Regions from separate parts of the Homo sapiens genome. Here regions 2 and 3 are each linked to region 1. The links are contacts of gene promoters, found by promoter capture Hi-C in human tissues and cell types (Jung and others, 2019). All regions are on one chromosome and are shown on one strand. The core of a region is centred on a gene start or on the middle of the fragment in contact, and the rest is flanking DNA. Distances in the headings are between cores, read along the strand shown.

Region 1 (3,065 bases), core at 297-2,796:
GAAGGACCTTCCACCGTTACCTCAGGGGCTGAGAGGAAAACACCCTGTGAAGGGGAAATTCTTCCGGGGCAGCTTCCAGGCCTAAGCTCCACGCTCCCTGCCCAGGTCAGCTTCTCCTTTTCCCTCCCCAGCAGTGGGAGCAGTTGTCTTCTGCCCTCGGCTGGATCCAAACAAGCCAAGTGTTCTCAGTTTAGTTATAGGAAGTGGTCAGAGTCTTGCATGAGGGCAGCTGCCAGATACCTAGCTTTGAAATAATTTTTTTTGTTTTTTGGAGACAGAGTCTTGCTCTGTTGCCCAGGCTGGAGTGCAGTGGCACAATCTAGGCTCACTGCAACCTCTGCCTCCCAGGTTCAAGTGATTCTTCTACTTCAGTCTTTTGAGTAGCTGCGACTACAGGCATGCACCACTGCGCTCGGCTGATTTTTGTATTTTTAGTAGAGGCGGGGTTTCACCATGTTAGCCAGGCTGGACTCAAACTCCTGACCTCAGGCAATCTGCCCTCCTTGGCCTCCCAAAGTGCTGGGATTACAGGTGTGAGCCACCATGCCCAGCCCTGAAATAATTTTTTAACATTGCACTGTACCCACACTACCTGAGCTATAAAGCAGTGATACTTCCTGTTTGAAAATTGAGTGCTCCCTGAAGTTGCCAGGAAACTGGCAGAACAGCCCACCCTGAACCTGGGAGTGAAACTCAGGGGGTCCTGTTCCTTGGTGACTTCAGCCATAGGGTGTTTCCCCAGGGAGTGCAGGGGCTAATATCCCAGCTCCTGCCTGACTTCCTAGAGTAGGACAAATAATCTTATCCAGGAGAGAAAATCCAACTGGAGGAAATGCAGCTGACTGGAAAGGTTCTCATGGTTGTAAGGCAATGTCAAGGTCACCACCACCCAGGCCCTGCCCAACACAGAAGGCCCTAGACAATATCCCTGCTAGGGGGGCATGCAGATGCTGCAGAGTCATTCCTCTTCCTTCCTGGGGTCCACTTCACTGCTAGACAGCTGTGGTCCTTAGCATGGCCCAAGGACGGACCCTGGAGCTTCTTACCCAGATCCAGATCTTTGAGGACATCTTTCCAAGAAGAATCATCTTTCCATGTCTTCTTTTCCCTGAGGTAAAAATTCCAGCTTCCACACAAGACCCTATAATAGAGAGATGGTTTCTTTTGGGAAGAAACCTGGGGTTTTTCAGGTGAGTCTACTCTGGGGAAAGCCAGGCATTTCCCCTGCTCCTTGCTGATGGTTAAGCAAGAAGGAGGTAGCACTGGAAAAATAAAGCTAGGAGATCTCTTCAGGGGATAACTCTTCAGGTCCTTAATTAGGGAGCACAGATAAACTCCAAATTAGACCACTCCACTCTGCAAGGGCAGCATATTCCACTTGCTATCAGAAGAGCTTTGTTGCTGCAAAGGGCTTGGAGATCTCTGTTCTACAAATTGCCCATGGCCCCTGGCCCATCAGCAGGGGAAAGGAGATAGTGGAGAGACGCCCTTTTCCGGTGTCCTGGGCTCAACAGGGATAAAAGGAGGCAGCACTCTGGGTGCCCCATCAGTGTGTTCTCTACCCCTTGGAGACTGCTTTTCTCCAGCTCTGTCAACTCAACCTTTCCCACCATGAGTCGGCAACTGAACATCAAGTCCAGTGGTGACAAGGGCAACTTCAGTGTGCATTCGGCAGTGGTGCCAAGGAAGGCTGTGGGTAGCCTGGCTTCTTACTGTGCAGCTGGCAGAGGGGCTGGCGCTGGCTTTGGCAGTCGGAGCCTCTATAGCCTTGGAGGGAATCGGCGTATTTCTTTCAATGTGGCTGGTGGCGGCGTTCGGGCTGGAGGTTACGGCTTCAGGCCTGGCTCTGGGTATGGAGGGGGCCGGGCCAGTGGCTTTGCTGGCAGTATGTTTGGCAGTGTGGCCCTGGGGCCTGCATGTTTGTCTGTGTGCCCACCTGGGGGCATCCACCAGGTCACTGTCAACAAGAGCCTCTTGGCCCCCCTCAACGTGGAGCTGGACCCTGAGATCCAGAAGGTGCGCGCCCAGGAGCGGGAACAGATCAAGGTGCTGAACGACAAGTTCGCCTCCTTCATTGACAAGGTGGGTCTCATAGGAGGAGGATGAGGCCGCACCCTGAGGCCTGAGCAGTTTTCCTGCTGCCTGGGAATGGACTGCACACTGTGGCTGGAAAGGTGCAGCTGGGCCTCAGGAAGGGCTTCCTCACCATTAGGGAAGGAGAGTAGGTCTGTGAGCCACGGAGGACAAAGGAATACATGAATATATCGGCTTCTTTGGCGATTTTGCAGGGAAGGATGGGAAGCTGGGTAAAGAGCAGCCCTTCCTTGACAAAAAAGTGATGAGTTTCTTGAGGACAGCTGGATCTTCCAAGAACATGAAAGGCTAATAGAATCCAGCAGTGTTCAGAGGGAAGGGCTCATGGTACAGGAAGAGACACTTAGTTGAGACATAAGGAAGGACATCTCCTGGGACCAGGGCCGAGCAATAGAAGAAAGCTGTGGAAACTCCTTGAGTGAGTTCTCAGTGATGCCTTGTCCAGAAGGCTAGGAAATGAGCACTTGTAAAGGATCTAGTTTGTGTGGAATGGCAAGGGTGGAGAGTCAAGACATGAGCAAAAATGACTACAACAATCTATGGCAAACCTGGGGAGTCAATGGTGTGTGTCCAGGGGGCATGACTGCACCCATTGTGGTTCCAGGTGTCTGTTGATTTGGGTTCCAGGTACGCTTCCTAGAGCAGCAGAACCAGGTTCTAGAAACCAAGTGGGAGCTGCTGCAGCAGCTGGACCTGAACAACTGCAAGAAGAACCTGGAGCCCATCCTTGAGGGCTACATCAGCAACCTGCGGAAGCAGCTGGAGACACTGTCTGGGGACAGGGTGAGGCTGGACTCGGAGCTGAGAAGCATGAGGGATCTGGTGGAGGACTATAAGAAGAGGTGAGCAGGCTCCACCCGAGGGTCACAGACCATGTTTCCCGTGCCTCTGGGCTCACCTGATCTCTGTGCCATTATTTTTTAGGAGATGGGGGAGTATGCACCAGGGTCAGGAGCTCACATCCCTTTCTC
Region 2 (3,065 bases), core at 357-2,856, 250 kb after region 1:
GGGCCCCTCTTCCATCATCCCCAGATCCCCACTCTGGGATATAACTGGCCCACTCATCCTGAGCGGGAGTGGGAAGGGCAAAAGATGAGAGTCACAGGAGGGTTACTATTAGCCCAGAGTGGGTCAGTGTTGGGTTGTGGCTGGGTCAGGACACAGGTCCATCAGTGGAGTCCTCCTCATCCTCTCCTGACGAAAGCAGTCCAGAGATGTGTGTTTGGAAGGGTTGATGGGCTCAGGTCCTCGGGTTAAGGCAAACCTCCTGGCTCGGTCCGACTGTCCATCCATCAAAGCCATTGCCTGTCCTAACCCAAAGGAACAAGGGCCCAAAGTAAGAGAGCTTGGCTTTAGGAACAGCCACATGAGCTAGCACCCTTCTCTCACCCAGTGTGTTCTCTGAGGTGAGAGAGTGATCTCATTTAAGGACCCTGCTGATGTCCCTCACCTCCCGCACCTTCCCTCCTTCCTGGTGAGTACATACACCCCAAGACCCCATCACTGAGCTTCCCTGCTGGGAACCTAAAGAACACCAATCAGCCTGGACATTGTGAGGGCCTTCCCCCCATCTGTGGCTTCTCATCTTTCCCCCTAGCCAAATGTTGGCTCCCCCACATGCATGCTACCTCCAAACACCCCAGGTCTCTGTAGGATTTCCAGAACCTAGCACAGTGGCTAGTGCATAGTTGGTGGGCACCAAATAAGTATTTCCTGAATAAATGAATAAATGAATAAATGAATAAATGAATACACATAGTCTAGTCTGCAAATCAGAGCCAGACTCTTTTCTGGTCATCTCTCAATCCTGTACTACCCCACCCCAATCCTCCTCAAGCCCAGGTCCCCACTCTCCTCCATGAGTCCCTGGAGCTCTGAGGTATTCCACACTCCCCGCTCCTGATCCCATCAGCAATGACACCTGGAACTCTGAAGCATAGCCCTGGCACTGTCCTGAACTCTCTGAATCAGTTTCTTCCATGTCCCAGATGGTGTCCCTGCACTAGGAATACCCAAAGTGCAAAGAACATGCCCTCCTCCCACCCCAAATCTCTACCCCCACTCCCATCCTTGACCAGGCTCTGAGCAGGAATAGGATAGGAGCGGCCAATCTTGACAATGAGGAAAGGAACCCGCCTTTGAGAAAAAGACAGGAAAGCCTACAGCAAGAGGTTGTCTCAGAGGCAGCCCCCTCCTTGGGACAGGCCAGCCACTCCACCCCAGGGCTTGGCCATGGGTCCAGGGCCCATAGCCTAGCTCTGCCCCTTTCAGAACAGGGTTCAGAGAGCAGGCTTTACCCCAGGTCACTGCACCCATTCCCCTCGCTTGGACCGCAGAATGCAACTAATGCTTTCAGGAACCCCTCTCCCCGCTCCACAGCAGTGCCAGTGGGAGGGGCAGGAGCAAGGAGGAAGCTTATAAAGGGCTTTGAAGATGAAACAGGGCCCGTGGCCAGGGATTGTTGATGCAGCCACACTGAAGAGGCAAGCAGGGTTCTAGCTTAAGAGGCCAGGGTGATGCCAAGCCAATAAAATTCAGCTATTGTCTCTTTGCTCCCTCTTTTAACACCAGCTGCCCCTGGCACATAAAAGGGCCTGCCATCAGCCAGGGAGCACAGGCCCTTGGTTCCATCCTCTGCCATCTACTCCACTGTTCAGACACCTCCTAACCTCCGTCATGACCTGTGGCTTCAACTCCATAGGCTGTGGGTTCCGCCCTGGAAACTTCAGCTGTGTCTCTGCCTGCGGGCCCCGGCCAAGCCGCTGCTGCATCACCGCCGCCCCCTACCGCGGCATCTCCTGCTACCGCGGCCTCACCGGGGGCTTTGGCAGCCACAGCGTGTGCGGGGGCTTCCGCGCCGGCTCCTGCGGACGCAGCTTCGGCTACCGCTCCGGGGGCGTGTGCGGACCCAGCCCCCCATGCATCACCACCGTGTCGGTCAACGAGAGCCTCCTCACGCCCCTCAACCTGGAGATAGACCCCAACGCGCAGTGCGTGAAGCAGGAGGAGAAGGAGCAGATCAAGTCCCTCAACAGCAGATTCGCGGCCTTCATCGACAAGGTGGGTGTCGTCCTGGATCACACCCTTCCTGAACCCCTACTCATGTTCAGAACTCAGGCTGGGCACTGACAGGGAAGTCAAAGGCAAGAACTTGCCCACAGAAGTTCCCAGGCCAAAGGGAAAGGTAGTCATACTTCTAGGACACAGACAGAAAGACAAAAATGGGACCGGGAGCTACCAGACTGATGGGGGAGATTAACTGAAAACACAAAAGCAGAACGAGGGGCAGAGCCTTCCACACTGAGTGATAATATCACCTAGTGAGCAAAGGACCACTGTGTGGGCGCTCAGGGCATTTGAAGCCAAATAACTGCTTAAATGCCAAGGAGATGCTGTCTCCATCAAGGCAGGGCTAATAAGTGTGGTGCTGGAAAACTGTCTGGAAGTGGGTCTCGTGGATGGCACAGAACTCTTTCTATACCACACAGTGATTTGGCCACTGAGCAGGGTCTAGAGTATTTTGTCCAAGCCACTGTTCCTGGGGCTCAGGATCCAGGGGTGAGCAAGAGTCATGGTCCCCATCCTCACAGGCTTTATGGGGAGGCAGGCAGTGCACAGTCTGGGTTTGGTTGAAACCATCTGTGTAGTCAGTGTCCAACTAGAGTTTGCAGCCACCTTCTCCACTGAATCCAGGCAACCACCATGTGGCAGTGATGTGAGAGACTGGGAGAAAAGGCTCTGACTAGGAACATGTTCTGGGGTTGGAAAGAGCCCTCCAGAGCCAAAACCTCAAGAGAGGAGTCACACTAGAGAGATGCCCACCAGAAAGGATCGGGAAAAAAAAATGTGGAATTTCTAATAGCATGAGAGACCAAGGATAGCATAAGATAGGACCTACCAAGGGTGTGGCCAAGTTATTAGACAAAAGAAGCTGAGTGGAGTAGTGGGCCAACCTCATCGCTGGGAGAGGGATGTTCCTATAATTGTCAAAGGGAGAGAAGACACCCCCTGCAGCGCAGAAGATCGGAGTTTGAGCTCTTCTCTGCCACTGTGAGCTCTCAGGCAGTCAGGGA
Region 3 (3,065 bases), core at 327-2,826, 150 kb after region 1:
ACAGTTGGTCTGGATGCACGCTCTGTGACCAGGAACTACCCAGGGACCTTGATCAAATCACCGTCTCACTCCTAGAACTCACCATGTTCCTTCCCTGACCCAGAGTCTTCATGCAGGCTGTTTCCTTTGTCTGGAATGTTCTCCCCCACAACTGGTCACTTAGGTCCCTCCTTCTCATCCTTCAGACCACAGTTCAAGCATCTCCATCTCTGGAGAGACTTCTCTGACCACCACTTCCCACTTCCAAATCTAGGTCAGATTCCTTCATTACACTCTCCCAGGACCCTGTTCATTTCCTAAGGGCACTTATCTTAGTGTGGAACTATACATTTGATAATATGCTAATTCAGTTAATGTCTATGTCCCCCAATAAACTGTAAGCTTCAGGGGGAATGAGTGAATGACCAGGAATGAATGAGCCTGCTTGTGGCACCCAGGGTGGGTCTGTGTGCACAGCGAGTGCCTGGGCCAGGCATTTGACTCAGTGACTGGGTTTGCTCTGGTTCTCTCAGTACGAGGAGCTGCAGGTCACCGCAGGCAGACATGGGGATGACCTTCGAAACACCAAACAAGAGATCTCTGAAATGAACCGCATGATCCAGAGGCTGAGAGCTGAGATTGACAGCGTCAAGAAGCAGGTAAAGATTTGGCAGGGCCAAGAGCTCCTCAAATGCTCATTTCTTCTGGGCCTTTCTGCCATCTTTAAGAACTCCTCCCCAAGAAGCACCACACCTCCATGGGCTGTCAGCAGGACTCATGGCTTCCTCCTGTCCTTACAGTGTTCCAGCTTGCAAACGGCCATTGCTGATGCAGAGCAGCGGGGAGAACTGGCTCTCAAGGATGCACGGGCCAAGCTGGTGGACCTTGAGGAGGCCCTGCAGAAGGCCAAGCAGGACATGGCTCGGCTCCTGCGTGAGTACCAGGAGCTGATGAACATCAAGCTGGCCCTGGACGTGGAGATCGCCACCTACCGCAAGCTGCTGGAAGGCGAGGAGTGCAGGTGAGGCAGATGCACCAACTTCATCCTCAAAGCAAGTTGAGCTCACCTCAGCTTCCTGGGCATTCCTAGGGGCTCGGGCTGTTGCAGCCCCTTCTTCTCCTGGAAGAAAATGCAGTTCAGAATTGGGCTATGGCAAAAAAATAATTTTAATTTCCTTCCAGGCTAGTAAATCATTTGAGGTGCAACTACAGTTAGCATCCCCATAGAAACCTAAAACCTGATCAGGTCTAAGTAACTGAATTCTACCAAAGGAGACATTTGGTTACATGGCAGCTCTCGAAATGTGGTCTAAAAGGCCATGGGCTGAGAACAAACAGTCCTAGGATTTGGGCTTACAGATCTAACACTAAGTAGCTACATAACCTTGGGAAAGTCAGTCTCCCTTCTCTGGCCCTCAATTTCTTCAATGATAAAATGAAAAGGTCAGATTACATGATCCGCAAAGCTTCATGGGAGCTTTGTGCTCTGCCAGTTAGGAGCTGTGTAGCCAAGAGCAGATACTTAACCTCTCCACCTCTCAGTGTTCTCATCCAATAAAATGTGAATAACAATAGTTCTAAACTCTCACATTATTAAAAGGGTTAAAATAAGGGAATACACACAAAGCTCTTAGAACAATGCATGGTACACAGCGTGTTCGATAAATGTTAGCTATCATTCAGTTTCATGGCCAAAGACATAGGCTTTGGTGTCAGATGAATCTGTCTTCAAGTCCAGCTTTGCGACTATGGGCAAGTTAGTTAACTTGTCTGAGCTTCCATTTCTCCCTCTATAAAAGTGAGCAAATAATACCTACCTCATGGGGTTGTTGAGAGAACTAAGTGGTGTGATATAAGTAACAGGTAATCAACAGCTGTTACCTCTTGTTAAGTTTCTCAGTATGTGTTTATGAATGAATGCCAGTTCTGTCCTGAAGATGCTAAAGCAAAGTTACTTGGTTGCTAAGATAATAATAAACTGATATTACTATTGTTATTTTTATGACTCAGACGCCTCTCCACACCTATATACAATAAGCTCAGCCCTGGCTCAGTGCATGACAATGGTCCCTTGTTGAGAGACAAATCTTATTATAGGACAGGCCCTTCTTTCCAGTTGATGCCAGTATATGATTACTTTTAATTTCCTTAAGGCATCTAACTAGTTTAAACCAAAAATTGTATTTCTGAGATTATAGATTTTGCTCCTGTGAACCTCAAACTCCACCTTATTTTATTCATTAGATTATTAATATTATCTTTAATACTACTAGTTCTCAAATAATTTCAACCTGCATTACTTCTGCAATAAAAATAATAAAGTATGTTTAAATGCTTTGTCAACAATTACAAAAGTGTCATTGCAAAGGCCCTTAAGCTGCTGGCCACATTGGTAACCTTCCTTCTCCCTGCTCTTCCCAATCAGGTTGAGTGGAGAGGGAGTTTCTCCAGTTAACATTTGTGAGTATGACATACTTCTTGGGCCATTTGGAGTGTGTGTGGTAGAGGGGATGGGGATGTGGTGGGCTTGCCAGAGGGTGAAGATATGACGGGTTAGACGGGATCTCACAGACAGCGTTCATTTGGAGAAGGTTTGAGGTTTTGGGTCCCTTAAAAAGCAAGCCATATTAGGAGTCTTTAATGTCACAGTTCTTTCCTCTTTGAGAGTGAGGGTGTCACAGAAGGGGTGATGAGAGGTTTGATGTCATTGTTCTGAGTGGGTTTAAAAGATCCTGGCCACATCTCCTACCTCCCAGAATTCCCTGCCTTTTTGTTGGGGCTGCAAGCCTAGCACAGAGGTGAGCACTTGATGTAGACGGGATTTATGAAAATTCCTGGTCTGGCTTGGACCTTTGAAGGGAGCCTTCATGCTGTGGACAAGAGCATTGCCAACTAGGCAGCTTCTCTCCTAAACAGTTTGAGAAGAAGCTCCACTGCTTGGCTCAACTCTGCCGAGTATAACTGCAGAAGGATGCCAAGGGTTTTCAAGGCAGTAAGGGCAGCATAAAATATGGCAGTTGGCTACAGTAGCTCTAAAACAGGAGAGGTATTAACAAGCTGGCATGGCCCTGTGCTGGTGAGAGAAG

Evidence for each region. The method cuts DNA at HindIII sites, captures the fragments that hold promoters and counts their contacts. A contact is called where the count stands out against the background at its distance.
Region 2: the fragment with the promoter of KRT83 here is called in contact with the fragment with the promoter of KRT74 in region 1 in 2 of the 25 tissues and cell types used here (H1 embryonic stem cells and bladder).
Region 3: a contact is called between a fragment that was not itself captured here and the fragment with the promoter of KRT74 in region 1, in 5 of the 25 tissues and cell types used here (bladder, dorsolateral prefrontal cortex, heart right ventricle and 2 more).

The regions. Positions count from the first base shown.
Region 1 is chr12:52,572,324-52,575,388 of GRCh38, reverse strand. KRT74 (keratin 74) reads left to right here and starts at 1,546. Exons shown (of 9, transcript NM_175053.4): 1 at 1,546-2,082; 2 at 2,722-2,936. The coding sequence starts at 1,612. RefSeq lists an enhancer at 2,952-3,065. The HindIII fragment of the contact is 9,071 bases long and covers 1-3,065 here.
Region 2 is chr12:52,319,939-52,323,003 of GRCh38, reverse strand. It overlaps KRT83 (keratin 83), which reads left to right and starts at 1,606. Exons shown (of 9, transcript NM_002282.3): 1 at 1,606-2,052. The coding sequence starts at 1,669. The HindIII fragment of the contact is 13,306 bases long and covers 1-3,065 here.
Region 3 is chr12:52,426,191-52,429,255 of GRCh38, reverse strand. It overlaps KRT75 (keratin 75), which reads left to right. Exons shown (of 9, transcript NM_004693.3): 6 at 513-638; 7 at 780-1,000; 8 at 2,405-2,439. Among named protein-coding and RNA genes, the nearest start is that of KRT75, 6.6 kb to the left of the region's middle. The HindIII fragment of the contact is 7,225 bases long and covers 1-3,065 here.